Regions from separate parts of the Homo sapiens genome. Here all the other regions are linked to region 5. The links are contacts of gene promoters, found by promoter capture Hi-C in blood cells and fetal thymus (Javierre and others, 2016). All regions are on one chromosome and are shown on one strand. The core of a region is centred on a gene start or on the middle of the fragment in contact, and the rest is flanking DNA. Distances in the headings are between cores, read along the strand shown.

Region 1 (2,700 bases), core at 7-2,506, 380 kb before region 5:
ACGTGATGCCTCTGGGGGTTGTGCGTTGGGGATGCATGCGACAGCCCATGACCCGAGGCATTCTCAGGGTATCTGTGCTGTGTGCCCGTGAGAACATCTTCCCATGACCACTCCTGCCCTCCTGCCCCGTGCTGGATCTTCCCTCCCCAGCTGGGATCTGCTCCCAGGCAACTGTGTGAATTTTACATTATTTGGAGCCTCATCTGTGTCAGGCTATAACATTCTATCCTCATCTGTAAAACTTCCCCGTCCATTATTCCTTGCACTATAACAACTGTCAACACACCAACTATTAGGAAGTTAGTATTTTGCTATTGATCACTGAATAAACATCAGAGTATTTTAAAAAACAGTTCTCTAGAAAGAACTGTTATAATTAAAATGAGTCTGAAAGATGAACTCTAGTATTAATGCCCTATATTTGATGGCACTTTATAGTTCATAAAATTAATTTCACCCCATTCTCATTGGACCCATTTCCCAAGTATTTATTGAGGCCCTGTAACAAACATGTCAGGAACTCTTCTGGGTGCTTGAGACACATCCATGAATAAAATAGGGGGAGAAGCTGTTGACCTCGTAGAGCTTATGTCTCGTGGATGTACCTGATCTTCAGAACCCGTGGATATTCCTGCAAATCCTCTGGGCCTGTATTCATTGCTTTGTCAGCATCTTGCCCTGAAATGCATTTGTCACCTACCTCTTGTTACTAAATGGTCTCTGCCCTCCAGACCCTTGTCATCCAAGGCACTAGGGGTCCTGGACACCCACTGGGGATGATGAGCTGGTAGCGACCTGTTTTGCATGAGTGCCAAGTCAGGAAAAATAAAGATATTTGTAGGCATTAAAAAAAAATACATTTCTTTAAAAATGAGAAGATGCAATATTTGTAAACTGTTGAAGCTTCCTTATTGTGCCATCACTTAAGGGTTTCATTTCTGTTTAAAGTTCTGGAAGCTGCATAACTAGCGTGGACTGACTGCTGTGTCATTGTGCTGTGCCTTTGAACCCTGGCTGAGTGAGTGAGTTTGTCCTTTGTTGATAGTGTCCTATAATTGCAAAATGTGGTTTGTCTTCTGATGCCTCTTAATACCAGATTCTTTTACTGAGATTTTTTTTTTTCATTTTCCATTGTAAATAAGGTAAATGGTAATGACTAACACAAAGCTGTATTACTCAGCCCACTTTGAAACGTGGTTTTATCACCTGTTCTTGTTAGGCAGCATGGTGTCTAATTTTGGCTTAGCAAATGACGCTCCTTGGTCTTCCTGGCTCATTAGCTGTGCCCACGAGGCTGCACTGACTGGGTCGTAAATGTATCTGAGATGTCCACACGGGGCTGCTGCTGCTCCTCTGTAATACTGAGGTCCACATGCAAAATCAGCTTTTTTTCCCCCGTAATTATCAGAGCAGCTAGGCAGGGCTGACAGCCAGGCAGACTCAGTGGGAGGCTTCTGGCCTGAGTGTGGCCTTCCCCAGAGGGTGGTTTTCCAAAGGCAGGTGGGGACTGGGGAGGCCTCGGGGGGCTGCTTGTCATTACCTGAATCACAGATGCTCTTTTGTCATACACAGCCAGCATTCCTCTGGGTTTCAGCAAGTTGGCATATCTTAAGCTTCAGAAGGAGCTGGGCCTTGCTGACTTTCCTATCTGGCCTCTTCCCTATCTCCTGTGGGGCCAAGAGCTTAGGACAGTGTCTCAGAAAAGCCTCTAAGTAGGGGGTTTTTCCCATGGGATTGTGGTAGTCTGATTTTTCATATCTATTCAAATGTTAAGAAATATTTTGTTTTCTGTATTTTTCTATTCTTTAGAAATTTTTTTATAATAGATAATTTCAAACCTATATAAATAAATCCTTATGTATTTATCATTTGACTTTATTATAAACTCATAATCAATCTTGTTTCATCTCTGTCCACTCCTTCCTCCCCGTCTTCCTCCCCCACTGAAGTTTCGAAGTGTATCCCAAGTGTTGTTTATAACCATTTCAGTGTGTACCTGTAAAAGGTAAGGGCGGCTGGGTGTGGTGGCTTACACCTGTGATCCCACCACTTTGGGAGGCCAAGGTGGGATTGCTTGAGAGGAGTTCGAGACCAGCCTGAGCAACATAGTGAGACCTCATCTACAAACAAATATTAACTGGGCATGGGTGGTGCATGCCTGTGGTCCCAGCTATTCAGGAGGCTGAGGCTGGGCATCACTTGACCCCAAGAGGTTGAGGTTGCAGTGAGCCCTGATTGTGCCATTGCACTCCAGCCTGGGAGACAGAGCAAGACCCTGTCTCAAAACAAAACAGTTCCTTAATGTCAAAATATCCAGTGAATTTTAAGAACCCACCTAATTTTTCAATATAATATAATTTGTTGCTTTGTCTCTTAAGGCTTATAATCTGTAGTACTTATCCTTTTCTTCTTGAGATTTATTCATTTTAAAAAACTCGATCATTTATCCTGGAGAGTTTTTTACATTCTGCATTTTCTGTTGTTTTTTTTTTTTTTGAGCTGGAGTCTCGCTCTGTTGCCCAGGCTGGAGTGCAGTGGCACAGTCTCAGCTCACCGCAACCTCCCTGTCCCGGGTTCAAGCGATTCTCCTGCCTCAGCCTCCCAAGTAGCTGGGATTACAGGCATGTGCCACCATGCCCAGCTAATCATTCTGCATTTTCTGTTTGCATACCCATGGCGTGATTTAACATATTTCCCTGC
Region 2 (2,700 bases), core at 109-2,608, 330 kb after region 5:
AGGTAGAAGCCGAAAAATAAAGCATCTTGTATTGCTGGAATAGCCTCTGTTTCTGAGGTCACATCCAAACTTAGCGAGGCAGCTTAACCTGGTGAGAGACACGGGTTCAACTCCTGGCTTCTGCACTGCCAGGGCAAAGGACTGCCGTTTGCTGACACAGTCTTGTAATTCAATTTAATTTTTTAACCAAGGTGTGGGAGAAGGCAGCTCCGCATAATGCTGAATATTATGGGTTCTGAAGCGAAAATTTTTGTCAGGGTTTAAATTTTGGCTTCATTGTGTAAGTAGCCCTTCCACCCCGGGCAAGTTATTTCCCACATAAAGCAATTGCTAAGTATGGAGCTGATGTACGTGCATCACTGAGAATGGGTTTAGCACATAGTATCCACTGAAGACGCTATCTTGCATTAGCTGTATTACTGTGATAAAGGATAAGCTATAATTAAAGTTACAGAGGAACAAAAGCAGCCCTTTTCACAACATTTAAAACATGCATGTAAAAATAAATGCAGCAGTGACAAGTCTTATGCTACAAACTCAGAAGAGCAGAAACAACTTTATTTTTCCTCTATGATTTCAAGCTCTTTTTCTGCCCAGCTGCTGAGAAAATTTAACTCCTGAGTCTTCTTGGCTTCCTTCCTTTTCCCTAAGGTTGTGTCAAGTGCCAAAGCATTTAGGGGAGGGAGGAGGCCTCTAGTCCTCTGTCAAAAATATTTTGGATTTTTATAGTCATTTCCCTTTCTCTGTGGTGAGACTAGGCCCTCCAGGACCCTGTGTTTTGGCCCCAGGAATTGAGGCCATCTGAATCAGCTGCCTGGGTTCCTGTCTGCAGTGGGCCCCATGGGCCTACAGAAGAACAGAGGCTGCTCAGGGCTGGGCTGTTTGCTGCCCAGAACCAAGGCTAGGATGAGGAGCTCAGACTCTTCCAGTGGAAGCAGTGCTAGGACGGAAGACAGCCGCCCCTGAAGAGGGGACATTGACATACAGTTGATCTGCCTGGGAAGGTGTAATAGAGATGAACTTGTGTCATCGCATCTTTCACACAAGCCACAAAGAAAGCTAATCCTGATTCCTGGTGAGAAGAAACCAAACTCGAGGAATGTTTTATATCACAGGACGGTCACAGCCTGTACTGGGGCACGAGCCAGGGCTGAGTAGAGTGCTGCCCCTGCACTCACTGACTTGATCCTCTCATTTACTCTGTGGAGCAGTCCCTGTTGGGATCCTGCTGCTTTGGGAAATTGCTCTGTTAAGCTTGCAGAGCTATGAAATTGTGGCCCTATTTCAAACCCATGAGGGCCTGATTCTACAGACTGACCACTGGGCTCTTTTACTTCAGCAGGACTTGGGCTGGGGCTGCAGGGATTTCACCAAGGAATGTCAGGCAGGAGGTGGCCATTGTGAAACCTGTCCCATCTTGCCTGTACCTCCTGGCTGAAAGTGGGATGCAGGACTTAGATTGCCAAGCTTAGGAATTATTTGTGGCTCTGCTGTTCACAATTTTGGAGAATGTTAAGGAATACTCAAGAAGTTGTGAGAGTAAGGGCCCTCACATATATCAGAACATGAAAGCATTCCAGTTAGGACCTTGTGATATTGAAACTAGAATAAGCAACCCAGTGGATAGACTGTGAAAGAGAATCCACATATAGACCTATGTGTAAGAATTTATGATCAAGGTGGCATTTTGAAACAGTAGGGAAGGAGCCCAGCAGCAAATGGTCTGGGGAATCCTGGCCCTCCACCTGAGACGTTACACGGCTCTTTTTTTGAGACGGAGTTTTGCTCTTGTGCCCAGGCTGGAGTGCAATGGTGGGATCTCGGCTCACCACAACCTCCGCCCCTGGGTTTAAGCGGTTCTCCTGCCTCAGCCTCCCAAGTAGGTGGCATTACAGGCATGCGCCACCACACCCAGCTAATTTTGTATATTTAGTAGAGATGGGATTTCTCCATGTTGGTCAGGTTGGTCTCGAACTCCTGACCTCAAGTGATCCACCTGCCTCGGCCTCCCAAAGTGCTGGGATTACAGGCATGAGCCACTGCACCCAGCTACACAGCCTTTTTTTTTTTCTTTTTTTGAGACAGAGTCTCGCTCTGTCACCCAGGCTGGAGTGCAGTGGCGCGATCTCTGCTCACCGCAAGCTCCGCCTCCCGGGTTCACGCCATTCTCCTGCCTCAGCCTCCTGAGTAGCTGGGACTACAGGCGCCCGCCACCACACCCAGCTAATTTTTTTCGTATTTTTAGTAGAGACAGGGTTTCATCGTGTTAGCCAGGACAGTCTCGATCTCCTAACCTCATGATCTGCCTGCCTCGGCCTCCCAAAGTGTTGGGATTACAGGCATGAGCCACCATGCCCGGCCTACACAGCCTTTTTAACACCACCTCCAAAGTAAAGTTCTTCATGGACTAGGAAGAAACTCTTTATAGAGTTATGCATAAAAACAAAGCCATAAAAATATTTTCATAATCTTAGCCTTCCTAAGGAATACACAAACAGAAATGATAATGTTAAAGATCAAGCCTCATGAGAATTCAAACAGGGAGGGGAACAGAAGGAGCTGGCCAAAGGAGAACTTTGTGTTCTATGTTGTTTGAATCTTACACAATGAGAATTTAGGGGATAATGTGACTTAAAAAATTGAAAAAAAAAATGAAAATGGTGGGTAGTCAACTTTGCACCATGGCTTTTAAATCCCTCA
Region 3 (2,700 bases), core at 73-2,572, 490 kb before region 5:
GACCCTATCTCAAAAAAAAAAAAAAAAAAAAAAAAAAATGGAGGGGCAGTTAGCTGATGTTGGGAGATCCCTGGAAAGCAGGAAGGTATGGTGAGATCTGGGGTACAGGAAGGAGGAAGGACTGACCTTGGCTCGAGAGACATGTCTCCACTGAGAGACAAGGGGAGGAGGAAGTGAGTAGGCTGCCTGCTGAACGCAGGAACTCATGCCTGTAATCTCAGCACTTTGGGAGGCCAAGGAAGGAGGATCACTTGAGGCCAGGAGTTCGAGACCAGCCTGGGCAACATAGTGAGACAAACCCTTACAAAATATACAAAAATTAGCTAGGCGTGGTGGTGCATGCCTGTAGAGGCTGAGGTGGGAGGATCGCTTCAACCAGGGAGTTAGAAGTAACAGTAAGCTGTGATTGTGCTGCTGTGTTCCAGCCTGGGTGACAGAGCAAGACCCAGTCTCAAATCAATCAATCAATCAATCAATCAATCAATGTGTGAGACCAGTAGATATGAATAAAAGAGAAAAAAAATACTATGGTAGCTGGGATTAGCTGCATAGTTAAATGAGGGAGGAAAAAACATAAAAAGTCTGGTTTTGTGATAGGGTTTTTTGTTTATATCCCTGTTTTTACTGTTTCAGTGTCTTTTTAGGAAGGTAAGTAAAAGTAGCTATATGGTAAATTAAAATTAAAATTGTCTTCATAGTTTAGGAATTATAACTTCTGACTATATCAAAAAAGGATTATGGTAGCTCCCTTAAAGGTCATTGTAAGGATTAAATATACCATAAAATTGTAAAGTACTTAGTGTAGTGCTGGACTCATAGCACTCAGCAAATGTTTAGCTCTTATTACTAATATAATACAGAAAACTCTCCTCATGAAAACATCTTGGGACATTCTTAATAGGCCATGATACTCCCTGGGTTTTTTTTTTTTTTTTTGGGACAGAGTCTCGCTCTGTCACCCAGACTGGAGTGCAGTGGTGTGATCTCAACTCACTGCAACCTCTGCCTCCTGGGTTCAAGCGATTCTCGTGCCTCAGCCTCCTGAGTAGCTGGGATTACAGGTGTGTGCCACGACGCCTGGCTAATTTTTTTCGTATTTTTAGTAGAGACAGGTTTTCATCATGTTGGCCAGGCTGGTTTCAAACTCCTGACCTCAAGTGATCCGCCTACCTCGACCTCCCACAGTGCTGGGATTACAGGCGTGAGCCACCACACCCGGCTGATAATTTTTGTATTTTTTGTAGAGACGGGGTTTCGCTGTGTTGGTCAGGCTGGTCTCGAACTCCTGGCCTCAAGTGAACCGCCCGCCTTGGCTTCCCAAAGTGCTGGGATTACAGGCATGAGCCACTGTGCCTGGCCAATACTCTATTTTTTGTTAACTACTGAAGATTTGTCTCTGCAAACCATATTAAAACATCAGTGTTTTGAGTAAAGTATCTTGCTGATACAGTTGAACAAAGGAACTAATTATAGCCACTGAAACATCCACGGTTCTATCAGTGACTGCTGAACATTAACCTAGCTCTTGAAAGTAGTAGGTTCTTCTCAGGATATAGAAAGAATGTCTTTTTTCTTTTAGATTAATTCATACCAAACTGAAATCCTTTGGGCATTGAGAAACCTAGAAAGATCACCTTTCTTTTCTAGGCTATGAATTCACAGGAAGAGGAAGGTGAAGATGGGGTTAGCTGCATAACCTGCTATCCAGTTTTATTAAGAATATTGCCCAGTCGTGACTGGGCGCGGTGGCTCATGTCTGTAATCCCAGCACTTTGGGAGGCCGAGGCGGGCAGATCACTAGGTCAGGAGTTCGAGACCACCTGGCCAATATGGTGACACCCTGTCTCTGCTAAAATTACAAAAATTAGCTGGGCGTGGTGATGTGCGCCTGTAGTCCCAGTGACTTGGGAGGCTGAGGCAGAAGAATCACTTGAACCCGGGAGGCAGAGGTTGCAGTCAGCCGAGATCGCGCCACTGCACTCCAGCCTGGGTGGCAGAGTGAGACTCCGTCTCAAAAGAAAAAAAAAAAAGAATATTGCCCAGTCGCGTTGGCTCACGTCTGTAATCCCAGCACTTTGGGAAGCTGAGGTGGGAGGATCACTTGAGCTCAGGAGTTTGAAACCAGCATGGGCAACATAATGAGACCCTCATCTCTACAAAAATATAAAAATTAGCTGAGCATGGTGGTGTGCAACTGTAGTCCTAGCTACTTGGGAGGCTGAGGTGGGAGGATCGCTTGAGCCCAAGAGGTTGAGGATGCAGTGAGCCATGATTGCCCCACTGCACTCCAGCCTGGGTGACAGAGTGAGACCCTGTCTCAAAACACACACATACACGCGCGCGCGCACACACACACACACAAGAGAACATTTAACATGATACAGGTATTTGTAAGTGCCACACTGAGAGGAGACCCTCTTCGTTCAGTGGAATGACTGATTTTCAGTCTCCTTCCTCTGAACATTTTTTGCCAGCTCTTCCTTCCCTAACCTCCCTCACTTTTCTGCTTGAATATTTTTCATCCCATCCCTGTACTGTAAAAGTCCCTTTACAGAATCATGGATCCCTAGCACATGTCAGTTTCTCTTCATTATCCCCTCATTTTATTTCTTCAAATTCAAGGAAAAGCTCATTTTTTAATTCTCCCTCTGTTATTTCAGGTTATGAGTCCAGGGACAATATGGAGCTCATAGTGAAGCA
Region 4 (2,700 bases), core at 185-2,684, 470 kb before region 5:
GATCCTCTACAAAATCATCTTGCCACACATATCTGACATAAACCAAGAGTGTGGGACAACTTGCAATATCAGTGCTCTCATCGAGTTGGATTGCAAAGTCTATACCGGACTGCAGCCGTGTAATAAGCATTGCTTCCAAATGTTTTGCAATCGTACAGATTCGACGAGATATTGTATTATCACTAAGAGGTATAGTTCTTAGTTTATCAGCTGATTTGTCATCAAAAATTGTCCGTACCATGTCCATACATGCTGGAAGGATAATTTTTTCAGCCGCTGTGTGAGCCATTTTCTCTTTTGCCACTCTATATGCAACTAAATACGATGACAATAAGGCTCTCTCATTCATAGTTGTAGAGCGACTGAGAACTTGTGGCGATGACTCTACTTTGTTTCTTTCCTTTTGAAAATGGTCTTCTTCATCTTCCTCCTCCACCTTCACTATCACGATGCCTTCCATCTCCTGGGTACCCCCTGGAGACAAATCTGTAGTATCCCTTGATTCAGGAGTCATTATTCAGGTTCCAGGAACTGGCTCACTTGATCCAAATAGGGTCTGTTTTGCAGGGCTGTCCTTTGTGACCTAGGTTTTATGAGATCAGGTTTTGCTATCCTGCAGGGTAGAAAAACGTAACAGCAGTATTAAAAAGCAACATGGTATTGCTGGGCTAACAACTCATACAAAACAATTCACTAAATCTAGTGGTGTGACATGGTAAATGATGAGCAACTGTCATTCATGTTGGCTGTGTGTCAGGGAGATTTGGTGTACTATATACACCACTCATTTAATACCCAGGGAAACCTAATGAGGTTCACATAATTACTATTCTTATATTACAGATGAAAAATAAAAGTTCAGAAAGATTAAATGTGTCTAACAACCCACAGTAAGTATAGAACCAGCACTCAAATCCAAGTCTGAAGCGAGTGTCCTAAATATGCTGCTACACTGCCAACTCTAAAAAGTGATCTGGTCATTCTTTTTTTTTTTTTTTTTTTTGAGATGGAGTTTCGCTCTTGTTGCCCAGGCTGGAGTGCAAGGGCACGATCTCGGCTCACTGCAACCTCCACTTCCCAGGTTAAAGTGATTCTCCTGCCTCTGCCTCCCAAGTAGCTGGAATTACAGGCCATGTGCCACCACGCCTGGGCAACTGAGCAAGACGCTGTCTCAAAAAAAAAAAACAAAAAACAAAAAACAAAAAAAACCATCAGGTAGGGTACATAGGGTACACAAGATGATCCACTGGGGCATAGGGAAAAAAATGAGAACTTGTATTTCTTAAAAATAAGAAATTAAGCTGCATAATTATTCAGTATTATGAATATTGAAACATGTTCATGTTACATAGATCCATGAATTATTCTGGAGGGAGAATGAGATTTCCACAACACATGCGATTGACAAAACACCCTCATTTGTTTGTTTGCTTTTAGTACACTGCAATATTTCACCATTCATGTGAGTTTAGTGGATTTAAAGATATTACCTGACTTAGGAAACAACAGGTGCCGGAGAGGATGTGGAGAAATAGGAATACTTTTACGTTGTTGGTGGGACTGTAAACTAGTTCAACCACTGTGGAAGACAGTGTGGCGATTCCTCAAAGATCTAGAACTAGAAATACCATTTGACCCAGCCATCCCATTACTGGGTATATACCCAAAGGATTATAAATCATGCTGCTATAAAGACACATGCACATGTATGTTTATTGCGGCACTATTCACAATAGCAAAGACTTGGAACCAACCCAAACATCCATCAATGATAGACTGGATTAAGAAAATGTGGCACATATACACCATGGAATACTATGCAGCCATAAAAAAGGATGAGTTTATGTCCTTTGTAGGGACATGGATGAAGTTGGAAACCATCATTCTGAGCAAACTATCGCAAGGACAGAAAACCAAACACTGCATGTTCTCATTCACAGGTGGGAACTGAACAATGAGAACACTTGGACACAGGGTGGGGAACATCACACAGTGGGGCCTGTCATGGGGTGGGGGAAGTGGGGAGGGATAGCATTAGGAGATATACCTAATGTAAATGATGAGTTAACGGGTGCAGCACACCAACATGGCACATGTATACATATGTAACTAACCTGCACATTGTGCACATGTACCCTAGAACTTAAAGTATAATAAAAAAAAGTAAATAATAAAAAAAAACTTAAAAAAAGTTATTACCTGACTTTACTAAATGAACCCCCCCCTTTTTTTTTTGAGACGGAGTCTAGCTCTGTTGCTGAGGCTGGACTGCAGTGGCACGATCTCAGCTCACTGCAACCTCCGCCTCCAGGGTTCAAGTGATTCTTCCGCCTCAGCCTCCCGAGTAGCTGGGATTATAGGCGCCCAACACCAGGCCCAGCTAATTTTTGTCTTTTTAGTAGATACGGGGTTTCACTGTGTTGGCCAGGCTAGTCTCAAACTCCTGACCTCGTGATCCACCCACCTCGGCCTCCCAAAGTGCTGGGATTACAAGCCTGAGCCACAGCACCTGGCCAACGAACCCCTTTTCTTTGGTACTGTGTCACTTAGCCTCTCTCAATAATGCAAGTAACTTTCTGTATGTTGGTGGCACAAATGGAAATGAATGTGGGGCCATAGGTTTTGCTTAGCTGAATGTTAAATTCAGTCTATCGGCAGATTCCAAAATTGGAAGAGACCTTGAGATAATCTATTTTACTT
Region 5 (2,700 bases), core at 80-2,579:
CTGGCACACACTACCCTGCACCCAGCTAATTTTAGTATTTTTTGTAGAGAGAGGGTCTCATTACGTTGCTTAGGCTGGTCTCCAACTCTTGGGCTCAAGAATCCTCCCGTCCCAGCCTCCCGAAGTGCTAAGATTACAGGCTTGAGTCATCGTGTCTGGCCCTGTCATTGCTTTTTAGTTTTCAAACATTTTTTAAAAAGTAAATCTGGCCGGGCACGGTGGCTCACGCCTGTAATTCCAGCACTTTGGGAGGCTGAGGCGGGTGGATCACAAGGTCAGTAGATCGAGACCATCCTGGCCAATATGGTGAAACCCTGTTCTCTACCAAAAATACAAAAATTAACCAGGCATGGTGGTGTGCGCCTGTAGTCCCAGGTACTCAGGAGGCTAAGGCAGGAGAATCGCTTGAACCTGGGAGGTGGAGGTTGCAGTGAGCCAAGATGGTGCCACTGCACTGCAGGCTGGGTGACAGAGCGAGACTCCATCTAAAAAAAAAAAGTAAATCTCTCCAAGCAGTAAGAGTCATGCAACCAAGCTACTGAGTTTCTCCCATGAACTTGTCTCGGAACATAGTGGAAAGTCACAACCATTAAAGCCTGTAGTCCCCCCCACCCTTGCACAACGTGGCCCCCTCTTATGCGTGCCTTACCCTGCAAGGCAAAGATGAAGGCTGTAACTGTGGTAGGTTGTGAAAGCACTTTGAAGGTAAAAGTGTCTGTTGTTACTCTGAAAACTCCTTTTAAACGGCTATAATAGCATATGCCACATGAGCAAAGCACAGAACCTTATAACTATGCTTGCTTGTGGAAAGACATCCCTTGTCCACGGGCCAAGTATTTGAAAATACCACTCCATATAGCTCCAGGGCCCTGAGAGAAGCTACCGTGGCAGCTTTGGGAAACCAGCCACCCTTGGCTTCACTTTGATCTTCCTCAGTCTACATCCTTGTTTCAGTTCCTTTGCCACAGACATACAATTACCAAGTACTATATTGCTTGATAATAACTATAATTACTACAAGGACTGCCTGAGATGAAAAAGACAGGTGAAATCGAACTTTCACATGGACTGGTGTCTGAGCTGGAGAGTCTGTTTGAGTTTGAGTAGGGGAAAGCCTGAAACCCCCCACCACCTGCTCCCGTTAGTCCCTGCATTAACTAGGGGCGGACTGGGACCTGATCCTCCAAGCTGGAGGCTTGAAAACTCAAGGGCAGGCGCCTGGTCCAGCGATTCGGAAACCGAGATGCAAAGTCCTCCCGCGCTCCTAGAGAGGACCCGGAAGCGCGGCGCGGTCCCGGAAGACGAGGTGGTGACACGCTTCCGGCCTTTGTGACTCATTGTGTCTGTGTCGAGGCGTCGGGAGGGCCTAAGTCCGTGTGCGGTGCCCTTCGGCCGGCCTGAGCCCCAGAGTCAGCTCCCCTTTCTCGCCCAGCGCCCCCAGGCCGCTCCCGGGGCTCACGGTGAGACTTGGGGCCGGCCTCTGGGGTGGGAGGGCGGGGCCGCAAGGGTGTGTGCGCGAGGGTGGGCTCCGCAGCTGCGGCCCTGGGACCCCCTCCAGGCGGCCCCGCTGTTGTGCGAAGAGAGTCCATGCCCCTGCCTCCTGGCCGGGCCCGGCCGTAGAAAGCGCCGTTCTTCCTGGGAGACGTCCCCGCCCCACCCCCAGGATCAGGCGGGGAGGGGGCGAGGGTTTCAGTGGCTGAGGGTGCCCGGAGACCCGGGGAGAAGCCGTCTGTGGGCCCCTCTCCCGCAGTGTCGTCATCGCCCTTTGACGTTTCTGCAAACGGGGTCGCGAGCGAACCGACCCCGGTCTTGATTTTTCTGCTCTCCCTTAGTCGCCATTTGCTTTGATTCCGGTGAGGTGTCTTTTTCCCCCCCCGGTTCCTTCGGGACCTCGAGGTGAAATGAGCGGAAGGATGAGAGATGGACACATTTTGAGGTGCCGCATACGTTTCCAGACCTGCCTTTCCTTCTCCCACCCTCATCACTGAGCGGTGATTAAAGAGTATTTGAAGCCTAGTCATAGTGGATAAATAGGTGATTGGGATCTAGTAGAGATTATATACACCCCACTCTTTCAGCTTGATGGAATGCTTTGAAGGCTTTGGAAAAGAGCTGTCCGGGACGTTAGGTGGATTTTTCAATTCTGGATAGTTGCTCTGTTTGACATGGAGTGGGGTGAGAAGTGAAGGGAATTTGTGGAAATTGCACTGTGTCACTAGGAGACTGATTAGCTGAGTGACCTTGGATAAGACGAGACACTCACCAAGTCTTAATTTCGTCATCAATAAAAACTAACTGGATTTTCTCAAAAGGCCCTTCCGACTTCGAAATGATTTGGTCAATGTAATTGAAGAATTAACTACAGTTTAGCTTGACACTCCTCCATCCCTCCCCTCCCTTTCCTGCAGTGCCCCCTGTACACAGTAAGATACTTTCATTATAGAGAGTGGCTGTTCCATGGCCTGGGACCAAAGAAAGCATTTATTGTACGGGCCAGTGCTAGGCGGATTGGAGGCGGTCAATAAATACTTGTTGAATTGAATTGTGGAGAATTCATTGTAACCACATCAGCAAAGCACTGTTAGTATATATGCTGAACAAATGTGGAGAAATCGCTGTTTTACATAGGAAACCATGGTGATTTGCCCCAGAATGTGTATCCAGGTTTGTATCTTCTCTGAATTAACATATAAGATTCTT

The links. Contacts are between HindIII fragments. The CHiCAGO score rates a contact against its expected background, and 5 or more counts as called.
Region 1: a contact is called between a fragment that was not itself captured here and the fragment with the promoter of ZKSCAN1 in region 5, in 3 of 17 cell types (M1 macrophages, erythroblasts and megakaryocytes). The highest score is 5.9, in M1 macrophages.
Region 2: a fragment that was not itself captured here is called in contact with the fragment with the promoter of ZKSCAN1 in region 5 in 1 of 17 cell types (non-activated CD4 T cells); the score reaches 5.3 in non-activated CD4 T cells.
Region 3: a fragment that was not itself captured here is called in contact with the fragment with the promoter of ZKSCAN1 in region 5 in 3 of 17 cell types (erythroblasts, M2 macrophages and M1 macrophages); the score reaches 6.1 in erythroblasts.
Region 4: a contact is called between a fragment that was not itself captured here and the fragment with the promoter of ZKSCAN1 in region 5, in 2 of 17 cell types (M2 macrophages and erythroblasts). The highest score is 5.6, in M2 macrophages.

What each region holds. Positions count from the first base shown.
Region 1 is chr7:99,630,508-99,633,207 of GRCh38, forward strand. ZSCAN25 (zinc finger and SCAN domain containing 25) reads left to right here. Exons shown (of 8, transcript NM_145115.3): 8 at 1-1,901. Among named protein-coding and RNA genes, the nearest start is that of ZSCAN25, 15 kb to the left of the region's middle. The HindIII fragment of the contact is 710 bases long and covers 902-1,611 here.
Region 2 is chr7:100,346,447-100,349,146 of GRCh38, forward strand. All of the region lies in intron 4 of STAG3L5P-PVRIG2P-PILRB (STAG3L5P-PVRIG2P-PILRB readthrough), which reads left to right. Among named protein-coding and RNA genes, the nearest start is that of MIR6840, 8.9 kb to the right of the region's middle. The HindIII fragment of the contact is 213 bases long and covers 1,253-1,465 here.
Region 3 is chr7:99,523,153-99,525,852 of GRCh38, forward strand. ZKSCAN5 (zinc finger with KRAB and SCAN domains 5) reads left to right here. Exons shown (of 7, transcript NM_145102.4): 6 at 2,661-2,700. Among named protein-coding and RNA genes, the nearest start is that of ZKSCAN5, 20 kb to the left of the region's middle. The HindIII fragment of the contact is 5,817 bases long and covers 1-2,700 here.
Region 4 is chr7:99,547,894-99,550,593 of GRCh38, forward strand. It overlaps FAM200A (family with sequence similarity 200 member A), which reads right to left. Exons shown (of 2, transcript NM_145111.4): 2 at 1-613. The coding sequence starts at 514. Among named protein-coding and RNA genes, the nearest start is that of FAM200A, 2.9 kb to the right of the region's middle. The HindIII fragment of the contact is 3,322 bases long and covers 1-2,700 here.
Region 5 is chr7:100,014,267-100,016,966 of GRCh38, forward strand. It overlaps ZKSCAN1 (zinc finger with KRAB and SCAN domains 1), which reads left to right and starts at 1,330. Exons shown (of 6, transcript NM_003439.4): 1 at 1,330-1,460. RefSeq lists a silencer at 1,416-1,585. The HindIII fragment of the contact is 19,683 bases long and covers 1-2,700 here.